4 separate regions of the Homo sapiens genome follow, and all the other regions are linked to region 4. Evidence: promoter capture Hi-C in 16 types of primary human blood cells and fetal thymus (Javierre and others, 2016). All regions are on one chromosome and are shown on one strand. The core of a region is centred on a gene start or on the middle of the fragment in contact, and the rest is flanking DNA. Distances in the headings are between cores, read along the strand shown. Region 1 overlaps TIMMDC1 (translocase of inner mitochondrial membrane domain containing 1). Region 2 overlaps TMEM39A (transmembrane protein 39A). Region 3 holds the start of TEX55 (testis expressed 55). Region 4 holds the start of ARHGAP31 (Rho GTPase activating protein 31).

What was found. The method cuts DNA at HindIII sites, captures the fragments that hold promoters and counts their contacts. A CHiCAGO score of 5 or more calls a contact.
Region 1: a contact is called between a fragment that was not itself captured here and the fragment with the promoter of ARHGAP31 in region 4, in 3 of 17 cell types (naive CD8 T cells, activated CD4 T cells and fetal thymus). The highest score is 5.8, in naive CD8 T cells.
Region 2: a contact is called between a fragment that was not itself captured here and the fragment with the promoter of ARHGAP31 in region 4, in 1 of 17 cell types (naive CD8 T cells). The highest score is 5.3, in naive CD8 T cells.
Region 3: the fragment with the promoter of TEX55 here is called in contact with the fragment with the promoter of ARHGAP31 in region 4 in 6 of 17 cell types (activated CD4 T cells, total CD4 T cells, non-activated CD4 T cells and 3 more); the score reaches 9.8 in activated CD4 T cells.

Annotation. Positions count from the first base shown.
Region 1 is chr3:119,501,337-119,504,036 of GRCh38, reverse strand. TIMMDC1 (translocase of inner mitochondrial membrane domain containing 1) reads right to left here. Exons shown (of 7, transcript NM_016589.4): 3 at 417-505; 4 at 16-83. Among named protein-coding and RNA genes, the nearest start is that of TIMMDC1, 4.1 kb to the right of the region's middle. The HindIII fragment of the contact is 5,898 bases long and covers 1-2,700 here.
Region 2 is chr3:119,443,846-119,446,605 of GRCh38, reverse strand. All of the region lies in intron 5 of TMEM39A (transmembrane protein 39A), which reads left to right. Among named protein-coding and RNA genes, the nearest start is that of TMEM39A, 18 kb to the left of the region's middle. The HindIII fragment of the contact is 6,903 bases long and covers 1-2,760 here.
Region 3 is chr3:119,144,671-119,147,437 of GRCh38, reverse strand. It overlaps TEX55 (testis expressed 55), which reads right to left and starts at 1,273. Exons shown (of 3, transcript NM_152539.3): 1 at 1-1,273. The coding sequence starts at 1,248. It also overlaps a transcript of IGSF11 not described here. RefSeq lists a silencer at 1,722-2,016. The HindIII fragment of the contact is 11,642 bases long and covers 1-2,767 here.
Region 4 is chr3:119,292,821-119,295,635 of GRCh38, reverse strand. ARHGAP31 (Rho GTPase activating protein 31) reads right to left here and starts at 1,253. Exons shown (of 12, transcript NM_020754.4): 1 at 632-1,253. The coding sequence starts at 731. RefSeq lists a silencer at 821-940 and an enhancer at 1,781-1,830. The HindIII fragment of the contact is 3,332 bases long and covers 1-2,815 here.

The sequences.
Region 1 (2,700 bases), core at 34-2,533, 210 kb before region 4:
ACAAAAATGTCTTACCTCCTGCAATTACAAAATGGCTTAAGGCATCTTTATTTCGGTATACATTCAGACTAGTGTTCACTGTGCTGGTAAAAAGGGAGGAGAAGGAAAATATAAGATTTAAAGCATATCCCATTTACCTTCTTGAGTGTTATTTTCACTGACTTAATAGATTTAGAAAAGCCTACTATATCAATCCCTGTTCCTAGCCTAGGCCCCTTCAATGTGTTCCAGACATGGTTGTAAAACCATAACTACACCAGTCTTTTACACAGAGAAAAGTTCTTGAAAAAAAAAAAAAGGCATTATTAATCACTTTCATGTGGGTATTCAGTTTTCATAACCCCACCTGCTCAAAAGACACACTCCTAAAACAATATCAAGAAAATTCACTATCTCACAATTCAGAGTGAACTTACTTGAATATAGTCACAAACACTGCAGTTCTCCAACCCCAGCGCCAGCCATAACGAATGAAGCCTCGTGTGGCAGCACGATGTGCAGATTGCTAAAGTTAATTAAAAAACTGTGAGGTTCTAAGACACCATCATATTTTCCTTATTCTAGAACTGCGGTAGAGGAATTTTAGCTATGGATTAGTCAGGTACACCCAAACAGATAGAAATACTAGAAAATCTCTAGAAATACTATTCTTTAAGTATTGAGGCTTACGTAAAAGTTCCATGTGTAGCCTATCCTATCAGGAGATGAAAAAATGGTTGAGTATCCCTTATCTGATACTTGAGACCAGATCCCTTATCTGATACTTGGATTTAGGATTTTTTCAGATTTGGGAATATGCGCTTTTAACACTTACTGGTTGAGCATCCCAAATCCAAAAAACCGAAATCTGAAATGCTCCAATGAGCAATTCCTTTGAATGACGTGTCAATGCTCAAAAAGTTTTGAATCTGAGCATTCAGGATTTCAGATTTGTGCTGCTCAACCTGTAATGAATTATAAATCTACAGAATAAAATAAGAATCCATGAGTCCCTACTGATAGAAATAAATTATAAATAGATAAATAAATATGTAAATAGAGGGGGGAAGGGAAAACACTTCCTTAGAGCATAATACTAACCAATAAATGTAGAAAGAATGATAGACTTTAGAAAATGCCCATTTGGCCACCACAGTCATAATTGTTACAGGAAGAATCATCATTAAATGCTAAAACTGCCTGGGTATGGTGGCTCACACCTGTAATCTCAGCACTTTGGGAGGCAACTAGGGAGGATCACTTGAGCCGACAAGTTTAAGACCAGCCTGGGCAACATAGCGAGATCCTGCCTTTACAAAAAAAATTTAAGAATTAGCTAGGCATGGTGGTGTGTGTTTGCAGTCCTAGCTACTCGGAAGGCTGAGGCGGGAGGAAACCTTGAGTCCAGAAGTTTGAGGTTGTGGTGAGCTATGATCGCGCCGCTGCACTCCAGCCTGCACTGAGGCAGGAAGACCCTGCCTCAAAAAATTTCAAAAAAAAAATTAATTAATTAAAAAATAAAAATAGGCTGGGCACAGTGGCTCACACCTATAATCCCAACCCTTTGGGAGGCCAAGGAGGGGGTGAACTGCTTGAGCTGAGGACTCTGAGACCAGCCTGGGCAACATGGCAAAACCCTGTCTCTACAAAAAATACAAAAATTAGCTGGGAATGGTGGCACATGCCTATAGTCCCAGCTACTTGGGAGGCTGAGACAGGAGAATCGAGTGAGCCTGGGAAATGGAGGTTGCAGCAAGCCAAGATTGTGCCACTGTACTCCAGCCTGGGCAACAGAGTGAGACCCTGTCTCAAAAAATAAATAAAGGAATAAATAATTTTTAAAAAAATAAAAAAATTATAAATGCTAAGAATTTAGAATAGTTTTTAGATAGTAGAAATATTATAGTTTATAATAGCATTTAAGTAGTAGAAATTTGATGAAAAGCAGGATATTTACATAGTCTCAAAGGAACTAACAAGTACTCAAAATACTTATAAATTACCAAGGAAAAACATAGTAATTTTACAGTGTATAGTTGGCAGAGGCCATCTTAAGCAAGTCACTGAAGTAAACATCACCAGTAAAGGGACAGAGATATCATGGGTTTCTAATTTAATTTCAGTTCTAGGGTATTCCTGTCAAAAAACATAGTCTGAATGCAGTCATGAGAAACCATCAAACAAACCCAAATTGAGGGACATTCTACAAAATAAATCACCCATAGTCAAGGCCATGAAAGACAAAAACAGAGAAACTCTTCCAGACTAAATGAGACCAAAGCAGCATAACAGGCAAATTCAACATGTGATCCAGGGTCAGATTCTGGACCAGACAAAAAAAAATTTAATTAATTAATTTTTTAATAAGAACTCAAGCCTAACTTCTGAAAAATACATTTTTTTATTTATTTTTAAAATAAATGATACTGTGGGATAACTAGCAAAATTTACAGGTCTTTAAATAAGATAATAGTACTATATCTGTGTTAATTTCCTGATCTTGATATTATAATTGTGGTTGTATAAGAGAATTTCCTTGTTTTTAGGAAATAACACACTGAAGTATTCATCATGTCTATAACCTACTGTCAAGTAGCTCAGAACAAATTAGTACATATTATACAGAGGGAGAATGATAAAACAAACATGGTAAAATGTTAACAATGGAGAATCCGGATGAAAGGTATATAGGAAATCTTTGTACTAGTTTTGCAACTTTCA
Region 2 (2,760 bases), core at 100-2,599, 150 kb before region 4:
TCCTCCCTTATCCATGGTTTTGATTTCTGAAGTTTCGGTTACCTGCGATCAACCAAGGTCCAGAAACATTAAATAGAAAATTCCAGAAATATGTGACAAATTATGTTTTAAATTGTGTGCTGTTCTGAGTAGTATGGTGAAATTTCTCGCCATCCCATTTTGTCCCACCAGGATGTGAATCATCTCTTTGTCCACCATGTCTGTGCCGTGCATGCTACCTGTCAATTAGTTGCTTAGTAGCGGACTTGGTTATTAGATGGACTGGCATGGTGTCACAGGGCTTGTGTTCACGTGACCTTTATTTTACTTAATATGGCTCCAAAGTGTAGTTATGCTCACAATTCAGGTATGCCAAAGGAAAGCTGTAAAGTGCTTCCTTTAAGTGAAAAGGGAAAGTTCTTGACTTAGTAAGGAAAGACGAAAAATCATGCTGAGGTTGCTAAGATTTACTGTAAGAATGAATCTTCTATCCATGAAATTGTAAACAGTATATTGTTATAATTGTTCTATTTTATTATTAATCTCTTAATGTACCTAATTTATAAGTTAAAACTTTATTGTATGTATGTGTATATAGTATAGGAAAAAACATAGTGTATGTAGGGTTTGGTACTATCCATGGTTTTAGGCATCCACTGGGGTGTTGGAATGTCTTCCTGCAGGTAAGAGGGTCTACTCTATGCCATATTCAAGTGCTGTAGACATGTATATATATTATTATGATTGTAACTAACATTTTATTACAAAACCTTTTAAACATTCAACAAGGTTGAAAGAATTTTACAGCTATCACCAGTGTAATCCTTACCCAGATGATTCTGCCTATTAATGTTTTACTATAACTGTGTAATACTTATCTGTCCATCTCTCCATCCCTCTATCCATTAGTCCATCTTACTTTTGATGCATTTCAAAGTTAAATTTCAGACCTCAGTTTGCTTCCTCCTCAATACTTCAGCATGTGTGTATCATTAACTAGAGCTCGATATTTGTTGACAGCTTTTTTTTCTTTTGAGGTTAAATTCATATAAATAAAATTCCCGCCGGGCGCGGTGGCTCAAGCCTGTAATCCTAGCACTTTGGGAGGCCGAGGTGGGCAGATCACCTGAGGTTAGTAGTTCGAGACCAGCCTCGCCAACATGGCGAAACCCCGTCTCTACTAAAAATAAAAAAATTAGCAGGGCGTGGTGGCACGTGTCTGTAATCCCAGTTACTCGGGAGGCTGAGGCAGAAGAATCACTCGAACCCAGGAGATGGAGGTTGCAATGAGCCAGAGCCAGGATCGCGCCATGGCACTCCAGACTGGGCGACGAGCAAGACTCTGTCTCAAATAAATAAATAAATAAAATAAAATAAAATAAAATTCCCAAATCTTGTGTATATGGAGTTTTGTTAAATGTGGACATACCTGTGTGACTTAATCCCCTGTCAAGACTTCAGAGCGTTACACATACTCCACAAGATTCTGTCATGCCACTTTCCCATCAAACCCCACCACTGTCCAGAGACGGTTGCTTTTTTTTTTTGAGACAGGGTTTTGCTCTGTCATCCAGGCGGGAGTGCAGTAGAGCGATCTCAGCTCACTGCAGCCTTGACCTCTCAGGCTCAAGCAATTCTCCCACCTCAGCCTCCCAAGTAGTTGGGACTACATGTGCACACCACCATGCCCCGCTAATTTTTGTTTTGTTTTGTTTTGTAGAGACAGGATTTTACCATGTTGCCCAGGCTGAGGAGTAAGGTTTTTTTGATTCCAGAGTCTTTGTCTTAATCATTACTGTATCAGTAGTTCTCAAAATGTAGTTTCTAGAACAGCAGCATCAGCATCACCTATAAATTTGTTGGAAATTCTCAGAATCTACCCCAAACCTACTGAAATAGAAACTGGAAAGTAGGACCTAGCAAGTTGTGTTTTAACAAGCCCTCAAGGTGATTCTGATGCATGCTCAAGTTTGAGAATTACTGCTTTATATTATTTATGGTGCTGAAGTGTTAGCGTGAATTTATGTGGGTAATTACAAAGTATAAAATCAAGTCATAATTAGAGATTGTGCTAATAAGGATGACAGGAACAGTCTTTCTATTGGTTATACTATAGTAGGTCTGATTACATTGTTTAAACAGTTATTTAAGTCACTCATCAACTGAATTCATTAATATTACCCTTGTTTTCTACAAAATGAATTATCTGTTACGAACATTTTTCATGACTCTGATTTCATATGAGGAATATATTTTACATGAATTGTTTCTATATTTATAGATTAATATTTCAGCCATTTGAGTTGAAAATAAATTTTTAGTCATTCTCCTTACTGGTTGAATCAGAAGATTAACCGTGTCTGATTTGAACGGCTAATTATGGGTATATTGAAGAATATTTTGGCCAAGTTTAAGAGGATTACTATTATCAGGATGGCTAGCAAACTTTTCTGTTTCAATTTAAGTATATAAAGAAACTTACTCTTAGAGGCTCTCCACACCCCTTAAAACAATGAAATAATTATGTAATTTAAATACATTTTAGTTTTAAACATACAGGCATACCTCAGAGATGTTGTAAGTTCTGTTCCAGACTGCTGCAATAAAGCGAATATCACAATAAACGAGTCATGTCAATTTTTTGATTTCCTAGTGCATATGAAAGTTATGTGTACACTATACTGTAGTCTATTTTATTTTATTTTATTTTATTTTATTTTTTGAGACAAGGTCTTGCTGTGTTGCCCAGGCTGGAGTGCAGTGGTGCAATCACAGCTCACT
Region 3 (2,767 bases), core at 24-2,523, 150 kb after region 4:
GGTTGCATTCTGAGTTTCCATTTCAACTGAAGGCTTGGAATTGAGGTCTACTTGGCTATCCTCAAATTTGCAGGGTTGTACTCTGTAGTCAGCCTCTTTGTCCTCTTTGCTGTTGCCTAACTGGGGAAATATTCTGTCTTCAGACTGGCCACGTGTTTCATAGTAAGACAGCTGGTCTTTATGATTAGCTTGTCTGTCTGCTAAGTGGTCAGTCTGGTCAGATTCAGTGTAGTGAGCATTGTCAACTGGAGGTTGATCAGCATTACTATGAGCTTGGTCAATAGCCTGGTGTTCAGCTAGTTCAGTGGCTTGGCCGTACACTTGGTGGTGAGTCTTTACAGATGTTTTGTGGTCAACGAGGCCATACAATCTGAGGTCAGTCTGCTCAGAAGTTCCTGGGTCAGCCAGGCCAGCCAATCTGTAGTCAGTCTTCTCAGAACTTCTTCTCCTAACTTTCCCTGACATTCTGCGGTCAATCTGTACGGAAGGTCTTTGGTCAGATGGTACGGACGATCCACTGTCAATCTGTACAGAAGGACTTTGGTCAGATGGGACGGATGACCCACTGTCAATCTGCACAGAAGGTCTTCTCTCAGATAGTTTGGATAATCTGTGTGTAATCTGCTCAGAAGTTCTTCGCTCAGCCTCGCCAGACATTCTGCGGTCCATCTGCTCGGAAGCTCTTCTCTCAGACTGGCCTGCCATTCTGTGGTCGGTCTGTCTGGAACCTCTCTGGTCAGATGGCATAGCCAGTCTACCATCAATCTGCCCAGAAGTTCTTCTCTCAGCCTGGGTAGGTAATCTTCGTTCAGTCTGTTCAGCAGTTCTTTCCTCCGTCAGGCCAGACACCTGACCATCACTCTGTTCATGCTGTACATTATTAGCTTGGCTAGATGCCTTGCCTTTAGTCTGTTCAGACGGTGTTTGATTAACCTGATCATCTGCTCTAAGGTCAGAAACATCAGCAGGGTTGGATGCTCTGCGGCCAGCCTGACCAGGTGTACTATGCCCATTTTGTTCAGCTACTCCGTTGGTAGCTTGGCTAAATATGCTGGATTCAGCCTGGCTAGGCACTCTTAGGGCAGTCTGGTCAGCTATTCTGTGAGCAGTGTGGTTATCTGCCTTCCTTTCGGCCTGGTTCTTCTGGTCGTCTTCTTCCTGGCCCTTAGTGTGGCCAGCACTTGAGGGAGCGGCTGGGCTTTCATGTTTCAAGGGTTCAGCCAGAGCCTCTTGCGGAGGCTCTTCCATTTCCTGCCGCGTCCCTGACTGGTCTAGGTTGCCAGGCACTGTGGGTGGGGTTGGGCTGGGTCGTCTAGGCGACCCTCCAGGAACGCCCCATGATTCCCACGGGCTTTGTTCGGGTCACTGCGTGCGTCAGGGAGAGTGGCCGTCCCGCTGTTGTAAGTGGAGGGACGGCAGTCAGCTGACCCTGCAGTGTGCAGGCGAGCGCAGGGAGTACGCCATGTCCTGAGAAGGGGCGATTCTCAGGCTCTGGCAGTTACAGCTTCTCCTCACCCTGCCGAGCAACCAGGCCACGGGGCTCCGTGCATCGCCACCTAGAGTGTTACCCTCTTCCTTGTTCACAGAGGTTCTCCGCAGTGTGTGAGAAAGAGGCCCTCTCTCAGGTACTGCTCCTCTGATTAACATCCCCCACCGCACCTCCAAATGTCAACAGATGAACACACAACCAGCTGCACGAGGACCACAAAACTGAACAGAGGTTGTTGCTATTGCCATCCCCTTTGGGTATAGCTGTCTTGGCAGTGGAAACTCCTGCCCCAAGGTGTTTTCTTGCTGGATTAGACATGTGATCTGTGGCGGGAGAGCCAGAGAGAGGAGAGAAGATCCAGTGAGAATGGGTTCTAAAACTGCACCATCTAGTGGTCTTACAGCAGAGAGGCGAGTTAGAAGGAGGCCAAATCAGAGTTCCAGAAAGGAAGGGAGTAAGGAAAGTGGGAGAAAGATACCAGAAGGAATATTTAGCAAGTGGAGAATTTGTATTTGATAGTGTTGGCCAGTGGGGCCCAGTTTTTGAGATTTGGTCCTCCCACTTTGCAATCAACCTTAAGAATGCACCTCAGAGTCAGTAGGCTGTCTACTTTCAGGAGTAGGCCAGTACAGAGGTGGTGATTGATGAGACAAATTACTTTGACCTTGCAAAGCCTGAAATCACTGAGGCAGGCCAAGGGTTGGTAGTGTGATGCCAGATATTCCTTTAGTAGGGATTTAACTGCATTAAACAATTAGAAATGAGACTTAAAATCCAAATTCAAATACTTGTGACAAAGGAGAGTGGATACACTTGACACCATACTTAGGAATGGAAAGGGGAATCTAAGCACACTGAAGTAAAGTCATTTATGTAACAGTGCCTAGAACATAATAGGTGCTCAAGAAGTGCTTGTTGAATGTCACTTTATGAATTATCTACCTTATTTATTTAAAAATGCATGACACCATTGGATACTGTGTTTAGAGTAAAATAGGTCTTGGGCTATGGCTTGTAGCTTCAAAGTGCTATTGGTTTTGGAGATTTATTTTTCCATTTTATAACTTAAATGTAATAATCATAGAAATATAAAAAAGAAAGCGTAAAGAAAAAAATTCCCAAACACTCAAGAGATAACCTGTATTGACATTTTGATGTTTATCCTTCTGGAAATACCCCCATGCAAATCTATGTGTCTATATCTATAGGTATGTATATATTTTACAAAATGATGATTTATCAATTTGAGATCTTTTTTTTAAATGTAGCTGTTTTATA
Region 4 (2,815 bases), core at 4-2,503:
TCTGAAAGCCAAGAGGAGGGAAAAGGTCTTGCAGGGCGGGGAGGGGGTTGTGGAAAGGGGGTGGAGGTACTATATATTTGGCATCAGCTCAGAAATTCAGAAATGTTTGTGCAACCACTCCCCCAGCCAGGATCCTCCCCCACCCCCCACCCGCAACTGCCTTCTAACACATTAATAAAAAAAGATGTGAGCAGACGAAATTGGAGAGCCCAGGAGGGACAGCTAAGGCGGTCATGATTTTGTACCCAGGCAAGACCACTGATCACCATCCCACATGTCCACCCCTCCTCCCTCCCTTCCAACGTGCCAAGTTTAGGATTGGGACCTCTGCAGCTTCCACCCCCATCCCCTGAGGTGGCCCGGTAAACTTGCGGCAGTACCACCCATTAACAGCTTGTGTGAGGCAAACGGAAGGACTGACACAGCAGCCTCTGCGCGTCGGGACAGCAGCGCTGTGCACCTTAAGAATCGTTTATGTTCTTTAAAAAAAAAAAAGAAAAAAAAGTGCAATGAGCGCACAGGCCTGGAATACATTAACTTGTGAACCGACTCTATCACAACTCGAGAGAGTCCGTCTCTCCCTCAAACAAAAAGAAGGTGGGGGCGGGGGAGAAAGGCCAAGGCACATTACCATCCTGTCCCGAGCTTTCCAGATACTCCGTCAGGTCACAGCCAAACGCGCTGGCGGCTCCCTTTCGTTTCAGCTTCTGCTTAGCACCCTTGTTCTTCATGAGTTAGTCCCAAAGAGGCTGCCCCTCCGTCTCTGCCGCCCCTCTGCTTGGCACCGCTGTAAGATGGGCTCCCGGGCTAGATCACCGGCTGCCCCGCGGCTCTGGGGGGCCGCATCGGAAGATGGAAGAACTTGGGCTGGGGGCCCTGCGCATGGACCCCGCGGGCCGCGGGCCGGCAGAGCCTGAGATCCACCCCGCGCCGCTCCGGGGCCGCCGTGCCGAGGCCGTGCAGACTGGCAGCCGCGGGCCGGCTCGCCTGGGAGTGTCACTTCCTCACTTGGAGTCCTAGGGACTTTCACAGGCTCCTGCGGTGTCTTCGGGTGTTTCTCCTCAGCTTAAGAGGGAGGGCAAGCTCTCCCCACCCCTTACTAAGTGCCCCGGAGACGACGCGGACGCGGGGCGAGGAGACTGCCCAGGGGGCTGCGGTGGGTCCTGCGCCCTGGGCCCGCTGTCTCGCCTTCAGACGACTTTGGTAGAGCGAAAAACAAGCATCCTGTCGCTGCTGCCCGCCCTCACGCCTTCCTTTTTTTCCTGTCTTACAAATCCTAGGATCATCCAGCTCAGGAAATGCTGGAAGGAAGTTAGCTAGGGAGGGGGGCGGTGGGTGGAAATTTTTGGCAGCTCGGTGCTTGTGAGTGTGTGGAGCTAGAGGAAGTAGGTGGGTGGGTTGAGGAGCACGGGGTTGGGGTAGAGAACGCGTTCTCCCGAGAGCAGTTCTGCGACTCCAGAGATAACTGGGCAGCCCCGGAGGAAATCGCGCTCTTCTCGCAGGACCCGCAGCCGCAGCCGCCGCTTCCTGCCCCGCCGAGCCGGCTCTTTGAAGTGGCGGGAGGAGGTGCGCTGGCATTCTGCGGGGACCGTGCTGGTTGGGACTTTCAGAACCCTCTGCCCTGGTTTTATCCTCATTGTCATCGTATCTTTGACACTTTCTATTTCGGTGCCCGCCTGTCTGCTACGCAAATACTTAAAGAGTAATGACAGAGACAAACAGGGGACTCCAGCGGAGAAACCTGACAGGCAGTGGCTTCACGCCGGCCACTCCCATCCCAACCTCCTCTGCAGCGTTCGTGCACCCCCACCTCAGCTCACTCCCCTCCCACTCTGGGGTAAAGATACCCCTGGGCAAAGAGAGGCTGCAGCTTTGTAACCACTGCCCAGGAAATCAGATTTCTGGTTACATATTCAAGACACACACACACACTACTGCAAAGTTTTCTAAATGGAAGTGATTTGGGGGGGACAAACCAGGATTTAAGATGCCTCTGACACATGAAATGTGAAGAAAGCAGTCTCCCAGGTTCTTTCATAATTTGTTTCAAGTTGTTTCAAGAGGGCATGTTTTTTTCTTCTCCAGTTAGATTTTAAATTCTTTAACTTCTGTGTACTCAGCACACAGAAAGCACTCAAATTCTTGTGATTTAACCATTTGAGGATTAGATGAAACTTCCTGTATAAATTCAAATCCATATACAGGCTTGAAGGATAGGGGCATATGTCATACAGCTCAGATTGCTGGCAAAGCTGCATCCGTAGCATTTTAGGTACTGAATCCCTTTACAGTCACTGTCTCTCTATGTAACCTTAACAGTCTATGAACTTTGACCCTTGACATTTTCTCTATGTCAGAGGTCACAACTTGATAGCCACCCTGCCAGATCTGGCCCATAGATGTACTTGGCTGGCAGACACCATGCTTTAACACGTTTTAAAATTAGTAGCTAGCATTAAAAAGTTAAGAGATTTCACATAAAATCTGAATTTCTGGCTTCTCTTGAAAAAATGGAAGATCTAGTTACACCACAAGTGCATTCCCATATGGCAAGGACGGCTGATGCTGAGTTGTGGCAGGCCCCTTGGAGGCACCCTCTTTAGAGAGACGACTCTTGCAGTTTTGCAGACCCCACGGCCTGTCTTCCCCCTTTTGCACCTGCCTGGCCTCTGCTGCCACTTGAGTTTGCAGCCCAACCTCTATGAATTGTCTTTCCTGTTTTTCATTTTCCATCTCTCAGTGACACTGAGAAGCATTTGCCCCAGTCATCTTGGTGAAATGTCTTCAAGTAACCACAGACTCATTTGTCTCCTTC